Linked DNA regions of Homo sapiens: all the other regions are linked to region 1. The links are contacts of gene promoters, found by promoter capture Hi-C in blood cells and fetal thymus (Javierre and others, 2016). All regions are on one chromosome and are shown on one strand. The core of a region is centred on a gene start or on the middle of the fragment in contact, and the rest is flanking DNA. Distances in the headings are between cores, read along the strand shown.

Region 1 (4,221 bases), core at 635-3,134:
CACTTTTTTATCCAGCTACTTTAATTTGAGTCACAGTGACCAATGCTTCCAACAATAACTTGACAAACCTCTTACTCTTGCCTGCTTATAACCTGATTATCTGTTTTCAACAATAGCTAAAGCCATTCCTCTTTTCCTGGAATGATTTTTTCCATCCTCTCTGCCAAACGATAGTTCATCTCCACATTACTAGAGTGCCTCATGTCCTGTTACTAACATCGTACCACTCCATGGAGTCATAGAACAAGAGTGGGAGGGGCCTCTGAGACTCTGTCCACCCCTCATATTAAAGAAGAGCCAACTGAGGAACAGAGAAAGAGACATGTATTGCCCAAGGAACTCATTGCATTCGCCGGCCTGGAAGCTTTCCAATGCACCACACAATTTTTTTTTTTTTTTTTTTTAAGACGGAGTCTTGCTCTGTCACCCAGGCTAGAGTGCAGTGACGCAATCTCTGTTCACTGTAACCTCCGCCTCCCAGGTTCAAGAGAGTCTCCTGTCTCAGCCTCCCGAGTAGCTGGGGTTACAGGTGCTCACCACCGTGCCCGGCTAATTTTTGTATTTTTAGTAGAGACGAGGTTTCACCATCTTGGCCAGGCTGGTCTCGAACTCCTGATCTTGTGATGCACCCACCTCGGCCTCCCAAAGTGCTGGGATTACAGGCATGAGCCACCGTGCCGGGCCCACACAACTTTTATATTCCATACTAGTACTTTCTAGACAATCAGAGCTAACTTTAAAGGGGCCACTGAAAGTTGCTGTTCGAAGGAAACCTACATTGACTATTACCATAAATTCAAAAATTATTTTACTCTGCTTGTCATCAGTAAAAGAATTGCTTGAATTGAAGCGTATGTAATAAACCTATCCTCTTGCAAAACTTGTTAGTGGCTCTGTGGTTAAGTAAGTCTTGAATACCTGAGGCTGCTTCTGGGAAGGTGGTCCTGTGCCACAGATAATGATGTCCCTTGGGTTTCTACTGATTACATTATGACTTGATTATAAGATTTTTACTGTCACGAGGGAGGGTCTTGGCTCATCTGAGATTTCCCTAGCCCCCTGAGTGGTGCTGAAATTGTTTTAATAAAGATGTTGCGCTTTACTCATGTGCTGCTATTAGCATTTGACGTGCTGTCTCAGAGCGAGAAAACGGAGGATCCCAACCTTCCAGTAGGAAGGCTTAGAGAAGAGGCTGTTGGCAAGTGTCTCTAAGAATTGCACAACACTGGCTGAGGGTGGGTTAAGGGTGAGGAGGCAGAGGAGAGTAAACAGAAAACACCGATCCCCAAATGTTAGTTACGCTTGCAAAAAACTAAGGCCTGCTTCAAAAAGCTGGTGATTAGCCTGAATAACTAGCAAAGCTTTCTTAGTTGTGGGCAAGTGCAGGCCTCCTAGGGCTTCCCTTAGGTTCGGCGATTCTGTGGTCCCCCTCCAAGCCTACTAATCAATAGAAGCTGGCATCTGTGCCCAGCTGCGCAAAGTAAACCTGAGTGGGAATGTAAAGTCGTTAACTCATACAAATACGGGACTTTCACGTCCCTCCCCATTCCTCCCTCTCCAGCCCCGTCCCGCAAACTCCTCCCCAAGGAGTCCCAAGCTGCCTCTACTAGGAAAGGACTCCCCGGCCTAAACGCCCCTTATGAAGCTACCAGAGAGGAGGAGGAGGAGCAGGAGTGTGAACCTACCTCGGCCTCAGAACAAGTCCGCAGAAACGGGCAGGACAATGGAAAGAAGTTTTGTTTCTCACCCGCTTCTTCCTCCCTAGTACGATGATGGGGAGCCGGTAGAAAACGCAAAGATGTTCTTTTGAATCCTGCTTTGCATCTAGGTGGGGTTGGCGTCCTTGTGTGAGTGTGTGTACACGGACGGAGATGGGGGCGTGGTGAGGTGTGGAGGGTCGGCGTGCCAGCCTCTGCGTAGTTGGGACCGCGCCCCGCTTCTCCGAGGAGGCCCCTCCCGCCTGGATCCGCCCTTGGAGCTGGCGCCGCAGCAGCACCCGCCCCAGGGGCCGCAGGGGCAGCCCAGGCAAAGAACGAGCCTGGGATCCGCGCTCCTTCCTCAGCTGGACCCCAACGGGCAGCAGCCGCGAGAGCACTGCCTCCACGGAGAGCAGATGGCGGGAAACTGGCTTCTGCTCCCAATTGCCAGGCGGCCCTTCAGAGACTACCCCTGGCTGAGCGTCCAGGAACCCATGAAACTTGGTCTTGACACTGGTCGACAGCACCATCTGCCACGTACTTATTCGCTGCTGCTTTCTTTGGCAGGACAGCCCATCGCGAGACAGTTTGTGTTTCAAATTTAACGGAGACTTTTTTTCAGTAGTTGACAAAAGGGGGTGGAAAAACAGTAGCCACGAGGGCTCGTCCGGGATTTGAACCCGGGACCTCTCGCACCCAAAGCGAGAATCATACCCCTAGACCAACGAGCCACTGTAGCTGAGTGGTGCTTCCTATCACTCTGAATTTCTCTTTTCCGCCTGCTGTTCTGAAGGTTTTTTGTTTTGTTTCTTTTCCTCTGTTGTGACATTTCCCTTAGGCCTTATTTAGTTATTCCTTCCATCTTCACCAAGTTTCAAGTGTGGCTTATTCTCTGGCTTATTCTCCTCGATCCAGATGCAGGATGGGGTGAAGGAAGGCAGCTTTTTAGACTTTAGGTCACATGCTTGTGTCTCACTGAGCCCGGGGAGCGATTTAAGCCCGCTAGGGCCTGGAGGGAACCTGGAGGGGGCTGAAATAGAGATCGAGGGCCAGAGCTGAGCTCGGTTGCAAGGCTGTAGGGTACTGAGCCCCAGGACAGACGCGCGATACGTATATATCTGCCGGCCTTTGGACTTAACGTAGAAGCCAAAATATAACACACTTCGGTAAGACAACAGTGCCTTCCCCCAACGGTGGGACGATTCGGGTCTACTATCTTTCAGAAAGGTAACCAACTTTTCAAGACGCGATTAACGCAGCCCACCTCGCGGCTAAGCTGTTTCCTTCGGACAAGGGTGAGAGACAGAAACAGATTTGATCACGTCAAGATACAGAGATTTTTTGCACAAACGAAGAGCAACCGTAAACCCCAAAACAGCAGCGTCTCCTTCGAGCCGGAATCGAACCAGCGACCTAAGGATGACCACACATTAAGTACTACAGTCCTCCGCTCTACCAGCTGAGCTATCGAAGGAAGCACGGAAACAACTCTCCTAAAAATCCCTACTCGAGACATCCTTAACCAGAGACGGGAAAGAAAGAAATCTCTTTATACCCGGAAAGTAATTACTGCAGAGTCACAAAGCCAGCTTGTAAGACAGTCCTGCGTCCGAGGTTCTGAGGACAACCTTTCTAAATCTGGATTCCCCTGCCTCACTGAGGGGCTCCCAAGCAGAGCAGGCGCCCCTGAAACTCGGGCATACCGAGGCTGCTCATCCTCTGGGCGCCCGAGGGCTGTTGGCCTCACTGGGCGCGGACCCAGGGGCCTCGCGAGCGTGGATGCGTGTGTTTGTGTGTAGGGTGGGGACCGGCACCTGGGCGTCGGAGAACTGGGGGCTGAGGCGGTGGGACGCACACAATTCTGACTGCGCAACTGTGAACGCCGGAGAGGGCGGGCCTCCAGGCTTAGGCCCGGGCTCCCTGATGTCCTCACTTCCTGCGCTTCCCTCCCAATCTCGGCTCTTCCGCTTACACGTCCACAGACACGGGAGGGAGAGGGTGTGGAATGGAGCAGTGGTCCCCAACATTTTTGGCACTAGGGACCGGTTTCGTGGAAGACAGTTTTTCCACGGACCGCGGGGGCGGGGGGAAGAGTTGGGGGATGGTTTCGGGATGAAACTGTTCCACCTCAGATCATCAGGCATCACTTAGATTCTCATAAGGAGTGCAGTTTAGATCCCTGGCATGCGCAGTTCCCAATAGGGTTCGCGCTCCTGTGAGATTCTAATGCCACCACTGATCTCACAGGAGGCGGAGCTCAGGCGGTACTGGTAGCTAGCCCGGAGTTCACCTCCTGCTGTACAGCCGGGTCCCTAACAGGCCATGGACAGGTGCGCGGCCCAAGGGTTGGGAACCCCTGAAATAGAGGACATCTGGGCAAACCCAATGTTTCTGTGTGAATTCGCTTTTGGAGATAATATTTGCAGCTCATTCAAAAGGAAGGCCACATTTCTCTGCGTTAAAATCAAATTTAGTGACCCAAGTCTCGCCCCTAAAGTCGGGCCCTTAATTTCCCAAAACCCCA
Region 2 (4,004 bases), core at 782-3,281, 45 kb after region 1:
AGACAATGAGTCCTGATGGGAACCACAGTAGTGATCCAACAGAGTTCGTCCTGGCAGGGCTCCCAAATCTCAACAGCGCAAGAGTGGAATTATTTTCTGTGTTTCTTCTTGTCTATCTCCTGAATCTGACAGGCAATGTGTTGATTGTGGGGGTGGTAAGGGCTGATACTCGACTACAGACCCCTATGTACTTCTTTCTGGGTAACCTGTCCTGCCTAGAGATACTGCTCACTTCTGTCATCATTCCAAAGATGCTGAGCAATTTCCTCTCAAGGCAACACACTATTTCCTTTGCTGCATGTATCACCCAATTCTATTTCTACTTCTTTCTCGGGGCCTCCGAGTTCTTACTGTTGGCTGTCATGTCTGCGGATCGCTACCTGGCCATCTGTCATCCTCTGCGCTACCCCTTGCTCATGAGTGGGGCTGTGTGCTTTCGTGTGGCCTTGGCCTGCTGGGTGGGGGGACTCGTCCCTGTGCTTGGTCCCACAGTGGCTGTGGCCTTGCTTCCTTTCTGTAAGCAGGGTGCTGTGGTACAGCACTTCTTCTGCGACAGTGGCCCACTGCTCCGCCTGGCTTGCACCAACACCAAGAAGCTGGAGGAGACTGACTTTGTCCTGGCCTCCCTCGTCATTGTATCTTCCTTGCTGATCACTGCTGTGTCCTACGGCCTCATTGTGCTGGCAGTCCTGAGCATCCCCTCTGCTTCAGGCCGTCAGAAGGCCTTCTCTACCTGTACCTCCCACTTGATAGTGGTGACCCTCTTCTATGGAAGTGCCATTTTTCTCTATGTGCGGCCATCGCAGAGTGGTTCTGTGGACACTAACTGGGCAGTGACAGTAATAACGACATTTGTGACACCACTGTTGAATCCATTCATCTATGCCTTACGTAATGAGCAAGTCAAGGAAGCTTTGAAGGACATGTTTAGGAAGGTAGTGGCAGGCGTTTTAGGGAATCTTTTACTTGATAAATGTCTCAGTGAGAAAGCAGTAAAGTAAAAGTGAAGAGTCTAGTAACTAGTCTTTTTTTTTTTTTTTTTTTTTTTTTTTTGAGAGAGAGAGAGAGAAAGTCTCACTCTGTCGCCCAGGCTGGAGTGCAGTGGCGCGATCTCAGCTCACTGCAACCTCCACCTCCTGGGTTTAAGCAATTCTCCTGCCTCAGCCTCCTGAGTAGCTGGGATTACATGTGCCCACCACCACACCTGGCTAATTTTTGTATTTTTAGTAGAGATGGGGTTTCACTCGATGACCAGGCTAGTCTCAAACTCCTGGCATCAAGTGATCCACCCACCTCAGCCTCCCGAAGTGCTGGGATTACAGGTGTGAGCCACCACACCTGGTCTTGTTGTCATTTTTAAAAATCATATTTTAAAATCCAAATATTCTCATTATCATGCTCCTTTCCGTCTTCATTATGGATATCACCAAAAGACTGAATTCTGGAACTACTAATGAATTCTCAGGTCATCAATCCACCTTCTTCTCTTTCAGGCAAAATTTCTTGATCCTAGATCATACCTAATAATAATAATACTTATTATTATTATTGATATATCGTGATCAATATCATCGCCACTTCCTAAGACCTTCCAACCTGTGAGTCTTAACCTATGGGTCCATGGTCATGTAGGGAATCTAAGGATGGGTTTCAGAAAATTTATATGCCCAATAGGTATCTAAATTTTATGTGCTTGAATATATATGCATTTGTCTGAGAAGAGGGACTGTAGCTTTAATTCAACATTTGAATCCATTCGTGCACTCTCCTCAAAAGCTAAAAACTGATTGCAAGTCTAAGTAGAGCCTTCCAACTGTTTATGCAAGTCAAGAATTTTAAGAAAAAATTCCTTATAGATATAAAATGAAATAAAAATAGATTATCTGTATATTTTTGTACATGCTTGTTAGAAAAATTTACATTTAATGCTAGAGGAAAAAGAGGTGAAGCAAATTTAATAAAGGGACTTAATTACTTCTCTGTGGTAATTCCAGGTGCTGTTGGGAAAGCAGATCAGTGAGGGATTTCATGAGTAATAGCATTTACTGTATTCTTCTAGTGTGCACTTTAGTACATTGATAAAGACATCTCCACTCGTTTTGTCATTGGATTATGTTTCATTCATTTGTTCATCTTTTTACATTCTTGTATCTGTTGTGTGAAATCTTCTTTTGTTTTTAGTAAAATAAGGAGCTTTAATATTAAAGAGTTAAGAATGCCACATAGGCTGGACACGGTGGCTCACGCCTGTAATCCTAGCCCTTTGGAAGGCCGAGACAGGCTGATCACCTGAGGTCAGGAGTTCCTAGACCAGTCTGGCCAACATGGCGAAACCCCGCCTCTACAAAAACACAAAAATTAGCCGGGCGTGGTGGCGGGCGCCTTTAATCCCAGCTACCAAAAAGGGTAATTTCATATAATTTCATTATATAAGGAGGCATTATATAAGGAGGCAGGAGAATCACTGAACCCAGGGGGCGGAGGTTTGCAGCGAGCCAAGATCGTGCCACTTCACTCCAGCCTGGGCGAAAGAGCAAAACTCCATCTAAAAAAAAAAAAAAAAAGAATGCCAAATGCCAAATATTGTTGTATCTACCAAGAACCAAACTTTGTAGTAAATTTTGTCTAGTTTATTGGACATTTGAAAAGGGATTCCTATTCATGGAAATCCCTTTGGAAATCTTGGAAACAAATATTTATTTATTTATTTATTTATTTATTTATTTATTTATTCATTCATTCATTCAGCAAAGGTCTGTGAAGAATCTTTGTTGAACACTGTGATATATGAATATATACAAAGATGAACAAGAATAAATTGTTTCTAACCTCAAGCAGCTTGAACTTTAGAGTTTAGAACTAAGGGACGGATAATAATTTAAGGAAATGTGGATGAGAAGGAGATTTACAAAAGGACATTGGAGATCTTATAAAAATTGGTTTACTCTTCCCAGTGCATTTTCTTGTTAGAGAAATTTTCACAGAGGTCATCATTCATTAAACAGGATTTGTCACGTTAGAGTGTGTGTACATAGGAACGATGTACAAAACATGTAAATATCAAGGTATCGACAGCATACTAAACTCAAAATAGTGCTGCAAAACTGGCAAAGTGCGTATTAGCGTCAAAAGAGTTAGCCATAAGCTTCAGTGGGCATGGAAAATAGAAATGTTTTTATCTAGTTCTATTCATAATGCATGCAAACACACTAGATAATTTTATTCCAAAATATTTCTGAGTACTAAAGGAATGGAAAGAATGATTCGAAGGTAAAAATAACTCTTCTGGAGTGATCTAGAAGTGTTGCCCAGAGAGGAGATGAAATATCGCCTTAAAAATTACCTAGTTTCATGAAACATAAAAATCTGAAGTCTATTCCAGCCACTGGCCAAGGAAAGGAATTCATGCAACAATTTACAGCATTTCTTGAAGTAATTGCCACATATTATGGCAATAAAGCATGTTAAACCATCCATTTTCAACATGTGTTTCATTGTGAAAAATAACTTTGGGCTCAATTTAATTCAATAAAATTTGTTGAATACTGTGTTCTAGGAAGTAAGTTGGTATGTTAGAGGTACAAATATTGGCCCCTGCCATCAAGGAATTCATAGACTTTTGGGGTAGACATAATACATATGAATATATAAATATATAATTTTTTTTCTGTTTTTGAGATGGAGTCTTACTCTGTTGTCCGGGCTGGAAACCAATGGCGTGATCTCAGCTCACTGCAACCTCTGCCTCCCGGGTTCAAGCGATTCTCCTGCCTCAGCCTCCCGAGTAGCTGGGATTATAGGCACGTGCCACCACACCCAGCTAATTTTGTATTTTTAGCAGAGACGGGGTTTATCCTTGTTGGTCAGGCTGGTCTGGAACTCCCGACCTCAGGTGATCTGCTAGCCTCACCCTCCCCAAAGTGCTGGGATTACAAGCGTGAGCCACCGCGCCTGGCTTCGAATTTCTATAAAGGTACCATGACAAGCGTCTTTATTCATACTAT
Region 3 (3,889 bases), core at 1,129-3,628, 61 kb after region 1:
AATGGTGCAGTGCAAAAACTGGGGTCCAGAGAGTCAGTACAACGGATAAAGTAGGAGACCGCGAGCGAGAAGGCCTCCCTGCCTAACCGAAAGAAATGCCAATTGGAAATCAGGATTTTAATTACGAATGCAGAATTCAGAGGAACTGATGCTGTGTAATCCGGGAGAATCCTGGGAAAGGAAGATTTAATTATTTTACTAGTTAGAAAGTGTTAGTACTTCAGGATCCTTGTTGTGCTAAAACGTACCACTGGCAGTGGTGGGATTCGAACCCACGCCCCCGAAGAGACTGGAGCCTAAATCCAGCGCCTTAGACCGCTCGGCCACACTACCACACACGTTATAGGAGTTTGCAATTACCTTCTTCATTCTGTCAGCATTTTGCCCCAGCGTACAAGTGCAAAATTCTGAATTTTCTTCGCGGAAGCAGGGTTCCGGATAGCATTTTCATTCATCCTTAGGGATCTAAGCAAACTCAAGGAGAGGAGGAATTACTGAATTCTCACTCGCCCTGGGAAGTGGGCTAGCAGGTAATGGAAGATTATTAGCGTCAATGTCTTTGGAAGACCTTTATCTTTTCTTTAACCTAGGCAATAAAACACGGAGACTTTAAAAATCCTACTGGTGATTTGAAAGTTATTCGAGAAGACTGAAGAATAAGAACTCCTTGCTGTTGGATCGTGGTTCTGTGGGTACAAATATTGCTTAGAGTGCCATGGGGTCGAAGTTCACGTCACTTATTAGGCGCCCTTTCGTTCACAGACCTGTAAGCCTGTCACCGCGTTCAAAGGAAACTCGATGGCCGCTCCCTCCTGCAGTTTGAGCAAGGAGAGGTTGGGTTGGGCAATTGCCGGGTTTCTTGTTGAGGAAGAAGGCCGCTCTGCACGCTCGGGTAGACCGACGCCTACGCCCATGGCAGTAGCACGGCTCCCCAGAGGGAGGTCACATTCCAAGGGCATCCCCAGCGCAGAAAGGGTGGTCCCGGGCTTCCCTGGAGCCCTGGTGCTGCTCATTCTTTTTCTTTTCTTTTCTTTTTTTCTTTTCTTTTCTTTTCTTTCTTTCCTTTCTCTCTCTCTCTCTTTTCTTTCTTTCTCTCCTTCCTTCCCTCTTTCCTCTCTCTCTCTCTCTGTCTCTCTCCCTCCCTTTCGGCAGTATGGCTATTTTCATGATGTTGATTCTTCCTATCCATGAACATGGACTGTTTTCCGTTTGTTTGTGTCCTTTCTGATTTCCTTGAACAGTGGTTTGTAGTTCTCTTTGAAGTGGTCCTTCACTTCCCTTGTTAGCTGTATTGCTAGGTATTTTATTCCCTTTGAAGCAATTGTGAATGGGAGTTCATTCCTAATTTGGCTCTCTACTTGCCTGCTGTTTTTTGTTTGTTTGTTTGTTTTGTTTTGTTTTTTGACGGCGTCTCTGTCGCCCAGGCTGGATAGGCAACACCCATGGCAGTGGTGCCATCTCGACTCACTGCAACCTCCGCCTCCAGGGTTCAAGCGATTCTCCTGCCTCAGCCTCCTGAATAGCTGGGAATACAGGCGTCCACCACCACGCCCGCCCGGCTAATTTTTTGTATTTTTAATAGATATGGGTTTTCACCATGTTGGCCAGGCTGGTCTCGAACTGCTGATCTCAGGTGATCCACCCGCCTCAGCCCCACAAAGTGCTGGGATTACAGGCGTGAGCCGCCCCACCCGGCAGCTTGTCAGCTTTCTTAAGCTTTTGGGCTGAGATGAGGCGGTTTTCTCGATACAGGATCATGTCATCTGCAAACAGGAAGAGTTTGACTTCCTCTCTTCCTATTTGAATGCCCTGTATTTCTTTCTCTTGCTTTATTGCCCTGGTCAGAACTTCCAATACTATGTTAATACGTGTGGTGAGAGAGGGCATCCGTGTTTCGTGCCGGTTTTCAAGGGGAATGCTTCCAGCTTTTGCCCATTCAGTATGATGTTGGTTGTGGGTTTGTCACACATGGCTTTTATTATTTTGAGGTATGTTCCTTTAAAACTTAGATTATTGAGGGTTTTTAACATGAAGGGATGTTGAATTTTACAGAAAGCCTTTTCTGCATCTATTTCATGTGTTGTAACATTTCTTTCTAAAGGAGCAGAGGGAAAGCTAGAAAACGGTTTCAGAGGTGATACTTGGGGTCTCCCGCACCCAAAGTGGGAATCACTGACCTGCGAACAACCCCACTCGGCGCAAAGCCCTGGATTATGTATTATTTATATTCTTTGCTGCTGTTCCCACTTGGCTGTTTTCTTGGTCTGTGGATCCAGAAATTCTCCTGGGAGCCTAATTAAAGTTGCCTAATTTTAAGTGCTCTCTCTGTCCCCCATCTCAATCACTCAAAAAAACCACAACCCTTTCTCGCCTCTCCTGGCTCTAGGCCTCTGAGGTCTCTCCCCAAGCCCTGGTGGCCCAGCGGGTCAGGTTGAGGGCGAATAGAGAGGAAAAAAGCGTTCTTCCCTGGGTCTCCGCGGGGGCGAAGGTCCTGCGAGTTCACGGTCACCGCTGCCAGGAGTTGGGGGAGGCGAGCAGAAAGGAAGTTCTTAAAAAGCAGCTTTAAAATAGGGCTCAGGGAGCACCGCATAAACGTAGAACCCAGGCAGGGAAGCGGGGGCGGCATAGGAAAGGGCAGGGACGTTCGGAGGTCGGAGGCAGGCTCTCCTCCCGCGCCCCCCCGCAACTCTAGTCCGGGCTCCCCGCGGTGCCTCCCAAACTCACCCCGTGTTACATCCCCCTCTTCACGCCTCGTCACCCTCTGGCGCCAGCACCCTCCTCACCAACCTCCAGCTCACCGGCAATCTAAGCTCACTGGGTACCCACCGTTGGCCCTGACCAGGTCTCTTTCTCCCTAGAAGGAGGAAGTCAGCACCCAAGGCCAGCAGGCAGCATCTCGTAGGTTTTGAATCCAGCAGGATGGTCAAAGATATGGCCTCCTACGCATCACTTAAGACGGAGAGATTAAAATACCCGTCGCCAGCCCCTTTGGCTGAATGTATGACTACTAAGAAATTTCACGTTGTGTTTTCAAGCTTTGGAGGAAGCCTTAGGGGAAAAGGAGTGTGAGCTTACTGCCTCCATCAGTACACGCAAGTCTTTGCCAGGGTCAGAAGTGGAAAGACTAATGTTCTTCTTAAGCTGGAGAGAATCCTAGGAATCCTGTGCCACCATCTCAGTGTGCAGGCCGGGGAAGCATCAGCTTGAAAGAAAAAAAGAAAGATCCTGGGGCTCTTTACGACTTGAAAGAGCTGTGCAGGGTGAATGGGAGGGGAGATAACAAATATTTAAAATATCTGTTGAGCTATTATACCTAGAATTGAGCCAATAAGAGACTTAGGGCACATGAATGGGTCTCATATTGAAACTTTTGATGAGCTCTCCAGATGAGATTTTACAGTCACATTTATGTCTCTGTGTTTCAGTGCTAGTCTGATAAACATACCTGCTATGGTTTGAATATGGTTAATTTGTCCCCACTAGAACTCATGTCGAAATTTGATTTCCAATGTGTCAGTGTTGGGAGATGGGGCCTAGTGGGAGGTGTTTGGATCACAGTAGTAAATTCCTTATGAATGTCTTGGTGCCCTTCTCTCTGTAGTGTGTGAGTTCTGGCTCTGGTGAGATTGGATTACTTCCTTTGGGAATGGATTAGTTCCCTGGGAGAGTGGGTTGTTATACAGCCAAGAGGCCCTCACTTTTTTTTTTCTTTTTTTCTCTTTGTATGTGTCTGCTTCCCCTTTGACCTTCTCTGCCTTGTTTTGACCTAGTGTAGTGGCCCTCCCCAGAAGCCTGGCTGATGCTGGTAACATGCTTCTCCTACTTCCCAGGCTGCAGAACTGTGAGCTAAATAAACCTCTTTCTTTCTAAATTACTCAGCCTCATGTAT

Evidence for each region. Contacts are between HindIII fragments. The CHiCAGO score rates a contact against its expected background, and 5 or more counts as called.
Region 2: a fragment that was not itself captured here is called in contact with the fragment with the promoter of RNASE4 in region 1 in 3 of 17 cell types (naive B cells, total CD8 T cells and activated CD4 T cells); the score reaches 5.8 in naive B cells.
Region 3: a fragment that was not itself captured here is called in contact with the fragment with the promoter of RNASE4 in region 1 in 15 of 17 cell types (M0 macrophages, total B cells, megakaryocytes and 12 more); the score reaches 12.4 in M0 macrophages.

The regions. Positions count from the first base shown.
Region 1 is chr14:20,682,223-20,686,443 of GRCh38, reverse strand. It overlaps RNASE4 (ribonuclease A family member 4), which reads right to left and starts at 1,884. Exons shown (of 2, transcript NM_002937.5): 1 at 1,686-1,884. It overlaps TRY-GTA5-5 (tRNA-Tyr (anticodon GTA) 5-5), which reads right to left and starts at 3,171; the gene lies at 3,083-3,171. It overlaps TRP-TGG3-2 (tRNA-Pro (anticodon TGG) 3-2), which reads right to left and starts at 2,428; the gene lies at 2,357-2,428. It also overlaps a transcript of ANG not described here. RefSeq lists enhancers at 1,593-1,732, 2,533-2,662, 2,803-2,992, 3,193-3,502 and silencers at 1,963-2,082, 2,353-2,402. The HindIII fragment of the contact is 4,966 bases long and covers 1,364-4,221 here.
Region 2 is chr14:20,637,693-20,641,696 of GRCh38, reverse strand. It overlaps OR6S1 (olfactory receptor family 6 subfamily S member 1), which reads left to right and starts at 6. Exons shown (of 1, transcript NM_001001968.1): 1 at 6-1,001. The coding sequence starts at 6. The coding sequence ends at 1,001. The HindIII fragment of the contact is 2,233 bases long and covers 915-3,147 here.
Region 3 is chr14:20,621,814-20,625,702 of GRCh38, reverse strand. It overlaps TRL-TAG2-1 (tRNA-Leu (anticodon TAG) 2-1), which reads right to left and starts at 333; the gene lies at 252-333. RefSeq lists a silencer at 234-303 and enhancers at 1-536, 2,286-2,425. The HindIII fragment of the contact is 1,319 bases long and covers 1,719-3,037 here.